2 separate regions of the Homo sapiens genome follow, and region 1 is linked to region 2. The links are contacts of gene promoters, found by promoter capture Hi-C in blood cells and fetal thymus (Javierre and others, 2016). All regions are on one chromosome and are shown on one strand. The core of a region is centred on a gene start or on the middle of the fragment in contact, and the rest is flanking DNA. Distances in the headings are between cores, read along the strand shown.

Region 1 (6,353 bases), core at 224-2,723, 410 kb after region 2:
ACAGAGTTGGTGGTGGCCCATCCTGCTAGGTCCCACTGCCCCTCAGAAGAGGCCCCAGTCCTTCAGGTTGTTCTTGATGATGACGTCGGTGATGGCATCAAACACGAACTACGTTCTTGGTATCGGTGGCGCATGTGAAGTGTGTGTAGATCTCCTTGGTGTCTTTGTGCTTATTCAGGTCCTCAGACTTACTCTGGTTGTAGCTGGCTGCCTCATCATACTTGTTGGACCCTGTGTACTCAGGGAAGCAGATGGTCAGGGGCTGTGTGTGATCTTCTCCTCCAACAGCTCCTTCTTGTTGAGGAAGTAGATGATGGACGTGTTTGTGAACCACTTGTTGCAGATGCTGTCAAACAGCTTTTATCCCCTAAGAAAAGACACACTAGTCTTATAATTCTTACCGTCTGTGTTTTCTCATCTGTAGTACTTGATTTTACTCTGAGATGGAATTCAACTTGGGTTTTGGTTTCTGAGTCTGGAGTCATGCACATGGTTTTCCCCCTTCCATCTTTATCAAAACTGTCCCTATCACCAGAGGGAAAGGATTTACCAATTCCTCCTTTAAAAGAGTATCCTGGCGGCCAGGCCTGGTGGATCATGCCTGTAATTCCAGCACTTTGGGAGGCCGAGGTGGGTGGATCACCCGAAGGTCAGGAGTTCGAGACCAGCCTGGCCAACATGGAGAAACCCTCATCTCTACTAAAAATACAAAAATTAGCCAGGGGTGGTGACGGGCGCCTGTAATCTCAGCTACTCGGGAGGCTGAGACAGGAGAATTGCTTGAACCCGGGAGGTAGAGGTTGCAGTGAGCTGAGATCATGCCATTGCACTCCAGCCTGGGCAACAAGATTGAAACTTCGTGTCACACACACACACACACACACACACACAACGGGCATGGTGGCTCACGCCTGTAATCCCAGCACTTTGAGAGGCCAAGGTGGGCCGATCATGAGGTCAGGAGATTGAGACCATCCTGGCTAACACAGTGAAACCTCACCTCTACTAAAAATACAAAAACTTAGCTGGGTGTGGTGGCATGCACCTGTAGTCCCAGCTACTAGGAGGCTGACGCAGGAGAATTGCTTGAACCCAAGAGGTGGAGGTTGCGGTGAGCCGAGATCGCGCCACTGCACTCCACACTCCAGCCTGGGTGACAGAGCGAGACTCTGTCCCAAAAAAAAAAAAAAAAAAAAAATGGATCCTAGCTGGGCGAGGTGGCTCACGCCTGTAATCCCAGCACTTTGGGAGGCTGAGGTGGGTGGATCGCTTGAGGTCAGGAGTTTGAGACCAGCCTGGCCAACATGGCAAAACCCCGTCTCTACTAAAAATATAAAAATTAGCTGGGCATGGTGGTGGGTGCCTGTAATCTGAGCTACTAGGGAGGGGATACAGGAGAATCGCTTGAACCCGGCAGGCAGAGGTTGCACTAAGCTGGGATCGTGCCACTGCAGTCCAGCCTGGGTGACAGAGCAAGACTCAGTCTCAAAAAAAAAAAAAAAGATTCTACTCCTGGCCAGGGACTCATCCAAGCAGAAGTCTAATGCCACAGAATTTCAAGTAGGCAATTTGCATCTCTGAAAACCTTCAGATGAGAGAGAGAGAGAGGGGCCACCAATTCACTGGATTTCAGCCCAACACAAGAGTAATGTCTTTGGGGCTTTTTTTTTTTTTGAGACAGGGTCTCACTCTGTCACTGATGCTAGCTAGAGTGCAGTGGCCTGATCCTGGCTCCCTGCAGCCTTGACTTCTGGGCTCAAGTGATCCTCTCACCTCAGCCTCCAGAGTAGCTGGGACTATAGGCATGCACCATCACACTTGGTTATTTTTTTCTATTTTTCTTTTTTTTTTTGAGACAGAGTCTCACTTTGTTGCCCAGGCTGGAGTGCAGTGGTGCAATCTCTGGTCACTGTAACCTCCACCTCCCTGGTTCAAGCGATTCTCCTGCCTCAGACTCCCTAGTAGCTGGGATTACAGGTGCCTACCACCAAGCCTGGCTAATTTTTGTATGTTTAGTAGAGATGGGCTTTCGCCATGTTGACCAGGCTGGTCTTGAACTCCTGACCTCAAATGATCCACCCGCCTGGGCCTCCCAAAGTGCTGGGATTACAGGCATGAGCCACCATGCCTGGCCTATTTATTTTTTTATTTTTTCACAGAGACAGGGTCTCTCTGTGTTGCTCTGGCTGCCCTCAAACTCCTGGCTTCAAGTGACTCCTACCTCTGCCTCCCAGTGAGGTGGGATCACAGGCATGAGCCACTGTGCCCTGCCTGGAGCATTTCTTCACCTAAGCAAATTAGCTGTTCTAAAAGCTGTGCTAGGTGTTGGAGGACATTTGAAGCACAGCTTTATTGTGTATTTATTGCAAGGTTTTGATTGACTCGTTGTGAAACTGGTAGGATTTCCCTAACTGACTACAAAATTCTGTGACTTTCACTTCTTTTTTTTTTTTTTTTTTTTTTTGGGATGGAGTTTCGCTCCTGTTGCCCAGGCTGGAGTGCAATGGCACGATCTCAGCTCACCACAACCTCCGCCTCTGGCGTTCAAGAGATTCTCCTGCCTCAGCCTCCCGAGTAGCTGGGATTACAGGCATGCGTCACCACACCCGGCTAATTTGTGTTTTTAGTAGAGACAGTTTCTCCATGTTGGCCAGGCTAGTCTCGAACTCCTAACCTCAGGTGATCTGCCCACCTCAGCCTCCCAAAGTGCTGGGATTACAGGCGTGAGCCACCACGCCCGGCTGACTTTCACTTCTTTTAACTGGTTCAGGGTAATCAATAGTTGAGAGACCGAATATTGAGGTCAGAAAAACTCAAAGCTCTGAAGCCGTGGTTTCCTCATCTATTTTGTTTTTTCATCTATAAAAATATCTCTATAAAGTTGTAATAATCATTATAAGAGCAATTACATAGCAATACTTTGTGCCAGTTTACTGTTATGATATATATGTATATATAGTATGTATAAACCACATTGTATATATAAACTGTTTTCCTCATAGCCACCCTTTGGAGAAGGTACAATTGTTCCCATTTTATTTTTATTTTTTATAGTTAGGATCTCTGTCTGTTGCTCAGGCTGGAGTATAGTGGTGCAGTCATAGCTCACTGTGGCCTTGAACTCCTGGGCTCAAGTGATCTTCCTGCCTCAGCCTCCAGAGTAGCTCAGACTGCAGGCTTGTACCACTGCTTCTGGCTAATTTTTAGATTTTTAGTAGAGAGGAAGTCTTGCTATGTTGCCTAGGCTGGTTTTGAACTCCTGGACTCAAGTGATCCTCTCGCCTCAGCCTCCCAAAGTGCTGGGATTACAGGCGTGAGCCCCTGTGCCTGGCCCATTGTTCCCATTTTCTGCTGGGGACAAGGAAACACAGAGAAGTTAGGTAACTTGCCCAAGGTCACACAGCTAGTAGAAGGCAGAACACAAACACAAACCCAGGATGCTTGAGTCTCTACTTTAAAAATCCTAGTGCTAATTACCTGGCACAAGATAAGTGTTGTTAAATCTTAGTTTCTTTTTATATCCTCCCTTGAACTTTCACGAAAAATGGTTATTCCTTCTTCAAAGTATCTTAATACAAAATTAACCCCCTGCCTTTTCAGATGAGGAAACGGAACTCCAGAAAGCTTGAACCATGTGTTTTGTGTGGCCAGATAGGACTAGATCCTAGCTCTCCTGCCTAATCTGGGAAGGAATAATGGTTCTCCATATTATTGTGTTCCATCTACTTCCTTCCTTAAGTATGGTTTTGTTCTTGTTATTTTTGTACCATTTTTGAAAAGAAAGGAAAATAATTTCCTTCCTGAATCTCACTCTTATCTCCAAATTGTTTTCTGCAATTAAATAACACTCGCCGTGCTGACAGAGGCATAACTAAATGGAATGTGCTGCTTTTCTACCAGAGTGCACAAAGGGAGTGAGCAAGAGTCTATCACTGCCAAAGTGAGGAGAGGAAGACTAGTTGGCATTCATTTTCTTTCTCTCTTTTCCATCTTCATCCCTTCCCTCCTTGTTTCTGCCTCCAGCTCTCTTTTCCCTTACCTGGATTAGGAGTATGGGACTATTGCTGGTGTCACCCTAATAAAAATTCAAAGATAGGTTAATAAGAGATAGTGCCCAGAGATGGGTAGTAAGCTAGGGTGTCAGTAGCTGCTGCCTGGTCTCTTTTTTTTGAGACAGGGCCTCACTCTGTCACTCAGGCTGGATGGTAGTGGCGCTATTAAGGCTCACTGCAGCCTCAACCTCCTGGGCTCAAGCAATTCTTCTACCTCAGCCTCCCTAGTAGCCGGGACTACAGGCACATTGCCATCATGCCCAGATAATTTTTGATTTTCAGTAGAGATGGGGGGTCTCACTATGTTGCCCAGGCTGATCTAAAACTCTTGGGCTCAAGTGATCCTCCCGCCTCAGCCTCCCAAAGTGTTGAGATTACAGGTGTGAGCCACCATGCCCAGCTTTGCTGCCTAGTCTTTTCTTGTCTCTGAATGAAAACAGAGAAAGCCCCGAATTCCTGTCTTTATTGTGTCATCATCTCAATACATGCCTTTGCATAATTTAGTTAACCTGTACTAGCCATCCATGATTTTCTCAACTTTGTATGAAATACTATCTTTCCTATTATCTGCTCTCAAAGAATTTTGGCTTGGCCATGAAATAGTACAGTGACAATGACAATGTTCAAGAGATCATGGTGTTTTGTTTTATTTTGTTTGGCTTAAATAAAAATTCTCAGAAGTATCACATATATGTCTATAGTTGCAAAAGTGCAACATAGCTTTATAGTCTTTGAATAGCACTATTCTAAAAGGCCTTATGATTTTGGAACCTATAGCTAAATAATATATTTGATCATCCTGAAACATCTATTGCACAAAAATGAAAGGAAAACAGGATTACCACAGTAAAAAAATACCGTTTTCAAAACAGAAGAAACAATGCTTGCTTCAACAGCACATATACTAAAATTGGAATTACACAGAGATGATTAGCATTGTCCCTCTGCGGGGATTACGTGCACGTCATTTGTGAAGCATTCCATATTAAAAAAAAGAAAGGTTTGAGGTGGTCATTAGAATAGAGTTCCTCTCTTTTTTTTTCTTTAGCAGAAACCTTTTGGGAAGGTTTGGGGGCTTTGGGTATTGATTGGCTTAGATGCTGAGTAATCATAGGTCTTTGTTTGCTAGGCTCAGGTTTTTTTTTTTTTTTTGACAGAGTTTCGCTCTTGCTGCCCAGGCTGGAATACAATGGCGTGATCTTGGCTCACTGCAACCTCTGCCTCCCGGGTTCAAGCGATTTTCCTGCCTCAGCCTCCCGAGTAGCTAGGATTACAGGCATGCACTACCATGGCTGGCTAATTTTGTATTTTTAGTAGAGACAGGGTTTCTCCATGTTGGTCAGCCTGGTCTCGAACTCCCAACCTCAGGTGATCCGCCCACCTCGGCCTCCCAAAGTGCTGGGATCACAGGTGTGGGCCACTGCGCCTGGCCAGGCTTAGGGTTTCTAAAGCAATATAACTTACATATAATGTTAGTACTTTTTTGTTTTCTATTCACATTCCCCAAGGTTATAACCAAAACCAGAATTCTTTTTATCTTGTTTCTTAGAACAAACCAGTGCTTGGGCCGTCCACTACTTTGTAGCTTGTTGACCTCTATCATGGCCGTATCCGAGGTGGAGAGGCAGAGTGAGACAGTCCCTTCTTTTCTGGCTACATTCTTTTGACTGGCTCTTTGTAATGAGAACAATTGTCCCCTTTGTCATCCAGGGCATGAATAACAGGAAGTAACTGGGAGTGATCTGTGGATATCAGTATCCTGGCCTCCTTAGCGTTCACTTTATTTTTGGGTATAGAATTTTGACATTCTAATCCTGGAAAGCCAGAACTGATTATTGGCCATCCTGGATTATTAACCTAGGCAAAACTGTGTTTTTCATATTTTCTATTTCTAGACCAGCTAGGTTCAAACAAAGTTTGACTCTTTCTTGCTGGACTTTACCAAAAAGCAAACATTTCAACATAGTGAATATTCTATCAAGTCTCCAAACATCCAGCCTTGTTATTGTTTAATACATGAAGAGTCCTAATATAAAATAGGCAGCAATCTAACCAGGCGTTTTTTACCCAAAACCAGTAATTGATAATCATTCCTAACTGGGGAGTGGGGAAATTCTCACTACTTTATACCTCACCTCAATTAGCCAATTCCACGTTTTAGGGACTGTTATTATTTATTTATTTATTTATTTGAGACGGGAGTCTCGCTCTGTCGCCCAGGCTGGAGTGCAGTGGCGTGATCTCAGCTCACTGCAACCTCCGTCTCCCAGATTCAAGTGATTCTCCTGCCTCAGCCTCCCA
Region 2 (6,030 bases), core at 1,218-3,717:
GAGCCCAGTAAGTTGGGGCTGCAGTGAGCCATGATTGTGCCACTGCACTCCAGCCTGGATGACAGAGCAAGACCCTGCCTCAAAAAAAAAAAAAAAAAAAAAAGAAAATTATTATATATTCACAAATGGAGCATCAGGCAACCAATTAAAAATAATTATTTATGAAGAATGTTAAATGACATGGGAAAACTTATGATGTAAAGTAATAGAAAAGTACAGCTTCTTATTTAATGAGATTCTAACTTTGTAAAACAATGCATAGAAATAAGACTGGAAAGAAATATGTTAAACTGTTAAGAGTGGTGTCCTCTGACTGATGGGATCCTGCAAGATTTTTTTTGCTTTATTCTATTTTTCTGAATTTTCCAAAATTTCCACAATGACTCTGTATTAGTTTCTTATTTTCAAAAAGTATTAAAAATTATAAGCTACAAATATTTTTATACCAGCCCCGCTCTACAGCCAGAAACTCTGAAAATTTGATCTGATATAAAGGGAACATTTCTGGTTTGAAGGGCTTGCTTGTGTCAGAGCTATACCTGCGTTTCTAGTTTTCTTTCACTCCATGAGTCAAATTAAGTCCAAAATGATTCCTGTACTTTTATCCAACAGGTATTAGCAGCTGATTAACGAAATGAGGGAGGGGGGAATGAAGATGGCATTCTTCTAGACAATAAGCAATCCTGAGCTGACTTCAGATTTATTGCTATGATTGCTTTTTAAAGTCGAGTTTTATTTAATAAGCTTTTAAAACTTTCTGGAACCATCTTCAAGCTTTCTAGTTTTAAACCAAACTTGACTTCTGAAATATATCTCTTTTCTCATGGGCTTCTGCAACTCTCAACTTCTTTTGTAACTTTTTGAGTTCAAATTATTTTTTCTTTCTTCTTAATTATAACTGTCAGTGACAAAGTTAGGTTTGTGTTTTTAATGTATTTCCTTCAAGTTTTTTGGTATTTTGGTTATTCAATAGGTCTGTGATTTCTAAAGTGCTGAACTTCTCAAAAAGTACTTTTTGAGAGAGTTCTCTTTACTTAAAGAGAACTGACTTCCTCAATGGTTGAACTAGTTTACAGTCCCACCAACAGTGTAAAAGTGTTCCTAAAGTGAACATTAAATATTCATACTATATCCTACAGGGACGTTATATTATCCTGAGCAACTTTACTTCAGCCTCAGTTAACTAACAACCTCAGTTAGCCAGAGCTTTTCAATACTTAACTGTTACTTACTACATTTAGCTCTAAACTTTACCAATGAAGCAATAATATAGGAGTTAAAAAGAAATTATTTAGGCAGGTAGCGAGGGTACAGGAGTCCTCAGTAAGGCTTTTTCTTTTCTTTTCTTACTCTTTTTTTTTTTTTTTGGAGACATTGTCTGGCTGTATCACCCAGGCTGGAGTACAGTGGTGCAATCTTGGCTCACTGCAACCTCTGCCTCCCGGATTCAAGCGATTCTCCTGCCTCAGCCTCCCGAGTAGCTGGAATTACAGGTGTTTGCCGCCACGCCCGGCTAATTTTTGTATTTTTAGTAGAGACGGGGTTTCGCCATGTTGGGCTGGCTGGTCTGGAACTCCTGACCTCACGTGATCCGCCTGCCTCGGCCTCCCAAAGTTCTGAGATTACAGGCATGAGCCACGGCGCCCAGCCAGGCATTTTCTTTTAATTGAAAACAGTCTCCAAACCATTTCTTTTCTAGCAAAAAGCAGCCTGAAAAGCTGAACTGCAAGCATAAATAAGCAAGCTGGAAGCTTGCGTAGATGAATGCCCGCAGCTGTACTAAAAGCCAGGTCCACCCAATATAGCGATTTCCCCTCCCTTTTCTTTGTAGCCATGTGTGGGGGTGTCATTGTGCCGGCCGGGTAAAGCCACATGTGTGGGTGTCATGGCGCCAGCCAGGTAGAGGCCGCATTTGCATAATAAAAGATTAGGGTGAGAGGGCCAGTTTCTTCAGGGCTATGTAAATGGCACACTGGTCAAACCAATCCCCTGGGCCCTATATAAATCAGACACCGCCTCCTGAAGCCTCCCTATATAACCTACTGCTTCCCACCACAAGCATGGTTTTTTCCCTTCAGAGCCCTCCTACCTCTCTACCGGTGAGCTGTTCTCTTCTTTCCTGCCTATTAAACTTTCCGCTACTTGACCCGCTCCGTGTTTGCGTCTGTGTCCTTAATCTTCTCGTCACGCGATGACGAACCTTGGGTATGTCCCCAGACAATGAAGCCGCTTCAGCAACTCAACCTTTGAAATAGTATAGAAATACGATATGCATGACTGGAACTTGCATCTGTGTGTACACAGCTACTAAGTAACAAAACATTTCACCAAGAGATTACACCATCCCTGTTCTTTCATTTATTTAACAAAGATATTTATTTAATGCCAGACAATGTTCTGAGCACCTGGGAAATAGCAATGGACAATGCAGATTTGGTGCCCGTCCTCATCCAAGTCCTCAGCATCTGCTTCCTGTATCACAAAAATGACGTCAAACTGACTTCCTGCATTAGTCCTGCCCACTTCCATCCAACCCATCCTGCTATCAGAAAGAAAGCACAAGTCCAATCATGTCACTGCACTGTTGCTAACATGTCAATTGGCAACTCTGCTTTACCTACAGAATACAGTCCAAGTTACTTAATACAGCACAAAGTGCCCGTAATCTCCCTACTTATCTTTTACTCACCTATCCCTTCCCCATGCTCTCAGCTTCCTCCCTACTTCCTTAAAGCGTCATGCAAATTTATGCCGCTGTGTCCTTATTTATGCTACTCCCTCGGAATAGAATTTATCACTTCTCCATAGAGGTGGGAAACATCTACTCATCCTCAAGATTTAACCGGAATCTCAACTTTCCTTAGCTTTTTTTTTTTTTTTTTTTCCTGAGACGGAGCCTCGCAGTGTTGCCCGGCCTGGAGTGCAGTGGCCCAATCTCGGCTCACTGCAACTTCCGCCTCCCAGGTTCAAGAGATTCTCCTGCCTCAGCCTTCCAAGTAGCTGGAACTGATTACAGGCACCTGCCACCGCGGCCGGCTAATTTTTATGTTTTTAGTGGAGACGGGGTTTCACCATGTTGGCCAGGCTGGTCTCGAACTCCTGACCTCGTGATCCACCCGCCTTGGCTTCCCAAAGTGCTGGGATTACAGGTGTGAGACACCGCGCCCCCTCAGGGCTTATTCTTATTCATATTTCCTTGCCCCAACACAGTGCCTTGGAATGAATAAATGAATGAATGAATGAATGAATGAATGACAACATGAGATAACTGAATATATTTCTACTCTGGACTCCAGCACTCATCTATACTCTGTTAATTTCAGTCAATTTATTTCTCTTTTCTAAGTGTGAGTTTCTTCCCCTGTTAAATCAAGAAGTTTATCAGGTTCCTTCCAACCGTAATATCATATGACCTTGAGGTTATAAACTCTCATTCATTGTGAGATGAGTTAAATAGAATGTGATAACTACAGCAGCCACCAGAAGGCAGCAGAAGCTTAACCTTGGAATTTAGAACTTGATACTGCGTTTATCTAAAAGGCAAAACTGAAAAGCATGTTTAATTAAAAATGACTACATTTAAATAGTATATTTAAATACTATATATAAATATTATAATTATATCTAATACAGTGAGATGTTCATACTGTAGGAGGCAGAGAATTGAGGTGGGCTGAGGAGTCCCCATATTCCCTCCAGTTTATACTCTAGTCTAGGGGATGTGCAATTTTGATAGACCAGTGAGTGGGATTATCTACACTGTTGAAAATGTATTTCTTGTACTCACTTTCGTTTTCTGGGGTTTAGGGCGTGAGAATGGTGGGAGTGGCAATAGTGGTGATAGTGATGGAAGTGGTGATTGTAGTAACAAACAGAATTCACCAGTTAAATGTGCCCATAATGCAAGTTCAACTCCAAAGTATGAATTTATTTCTGCCCCGATGAGAGTAGAAATCCAAAGTTCACATTTTCACCATTGAAAATTTCCCATGAACACAAAACAAGGTAATAGAGGCAAAGTCACATGTCTGCAAAGCATAAACCCTTCAAATTCAGCCCTTATACAAAGGAGCTGTAGTGTTTACCCCAAGCTAAACCATCTACTTCAGAAGGACATAATATGATTAAACAAAAACAGTTTTAAAATACATATGACATGAGACCCCTAATGGCACAGGAGTCTTTCTATATGAATTTATTTATGTATTTTAATGTCCAAGCACCTTCTCCTTGCCTCTTCTCAGGCAATAAGATGACCAGGGCCAGGTTTTTCTTCTATTATTTTTTATTAGCCATTTTTATTGATACTTTACCAGGTCTTGTGCTGGGTGCCAAAGGTGTAAGGATGAACAGGAATGAATAAGTAGGACATGGACTGTGCCCCCAGGAGTTTAGATTATGGTGTCATGATAGAGAATACAGTGTGAAGGTTTAGGATTCTGCTTTCATAAAGAAGTCCTAAAACCTCATTTTCGGGGCACCTACATCAATTATATTTTAGCACAGAAAAATTCACACATGGCTGGGCACAGTGGCTCACGCCTGTAATCCCAGCACTTTGGGAGACCAAGGTGGGCTGATCACCTGAGGTCAGGAGTTCGAGACCAGCCTGGCCAACGTGATGAAACCCCACCTCTACTAAAAATACAAAAAATTAGCTGGACATGGTGGCGTGCGCCTGTAATCCCAGATACTTGGGAGGCTGAGGCAGGAGAATCTTTGAACCTGGAGGGTGGAGGTTGCGGTGAGCCGAGATCGTGCCATTGCATGCCAGCCTGGGCAAAAAGAGCAAAACTCTGTCTCAGAAAAATAAAAAGAAAAATTCACACACATGATTTTAAAATCCAGTAGCAGATGTGTTCATAATGGAAAGTGAATGCACCTGATCCCACCTCTGTGCATCTCTGCTCTCTCAGTCACTTCTGCTTTTACTGTTTTGCATATCTAAATAATATGCTTCTATTTCTTGATTTATAAGCTTTAGCAGTTATCTATTAATTTTTTGTATTGATACATGAAGATTTAGCTCATCTTCGCTAGCCCTCTTTCTCACTTCTTCCCATATAGTTATATCTTTTTTGTCGGTACAATTATTGAACACCTTTTTCATTTTAATTAATATGCATGAGCTTCTAGTGTTGTCCTATCAATTGTATATAAAATATCTTGCCTCCCACTTTGTAAGATGAAGATGTTAGTGCCACAATTCTTTCTTCTACCTCCTTCCCATCTCCAAAATTCTCCTATATTTTTCTTTGCCAGGGTTGATAATATTTATTTGGTAACCAAAATAAAGACCTCTGTTCTTTACCTATAACTTGATTCTATAAGTTGAAAACAAGGAAACATTTTCATTATGTGAATATTATTTATATAAAGCTAAATTGTATACCGTGATAACATCTTTCTTTTTTTTTTTTTTTTTTTGAGACGGAGTCTCATTGTGTCGCCCAGGCTGGAGAGCAGTGGTGCAATCTTGGCTCACTACAACCTCCACCTCCCGGGTTCAAGCGATTCTCCTGCTTCAGCCTCCCGAATAGCTGGGATTACAGGCACCCACCACCACGGCCAGATAATTTTTTGTATTTTTAGTAGAGATGGGGTTTTGCCATGTTGGCTAGGCTGGTCTTGATCTCCTGACCTCAGGTGATCGGCCCCTCAGCCCCCCCAAAGTGCTGGGATTACAGGTATGAGCCACCGCACCCGGCCAACATCTTTCTATATAGCCCCAATGTCTCCCTTTTGTACCACAAAGGAAAATTGATTTTCTCTCCTTTTTTAATACCTAATTCTCAAAGTCAGGGCACATTTTACTTTGTTTCATTTTTGGATTATGCCTTCCTTGAACATTTTTTCCTTAGAATTCCTGATTGGATTTCTCTTTTCTTTCCTTGCTGTATAAAGAAACATGTCTTCTTCACCATACTCCTATCACTTCCCAGCTTCTTACACATTCTGTCTATTGCTTGGAATCTATTCCATTTTTTCTTCTTGAACCTACTGACTTCCTAATAGGGAATTCATTGCGGC

What was found. The method cuts DNA at HindIII sites, captures the fragments that hold promoters and counts their contacts. A CHiCAGO score of 5 or more calls a contact.
Region 1: a contact is called between a fragment that was not itself captured here and the fragment with the promoter of GUCY2C-AS1 in region 2, in 11 of 17 cell types (naive CD8 T cells, naive CD4 T cells, total B cells and 8 more). The highest score is 12.4, in naive CD8 T cells.

What each region holds. Positions count from the first base shown.
Region 1 is chr12:14,248,921-14,255,273 of GRCh38, reverse strand. It overlaps the pseudogene RNU6-491P and the pseudogene GNAI2P1. Among named protein-coding and RNA genes, the nearest start is that of ATF7IP, 110 kb to the left of the region's middle. RefSeq lists an enhancer at 5,366-5,880. The HindIII fragment of the contact is 4,306 bases long and covers 1-3,626 here.
Region 2 is chr12:14,662,073-14,668,102 of GRCh38, reverse strand. It overlaps GUCY2C-AS1 (GUCY2C antisense RNA 1), which reads right to left and starts at 2,467. Exons shown (of 6, transcript NR_186173.1): 1 at 2,406-2,467; 2 at 2,090-2,244; 3 at 1-74. All of the region lies in intron 10 of GUCY2C (guanylate cyclase 2C), which reads left to right. The HindIII fragment of the contact is 1,745 bases long and covers 1,754-3,498 here.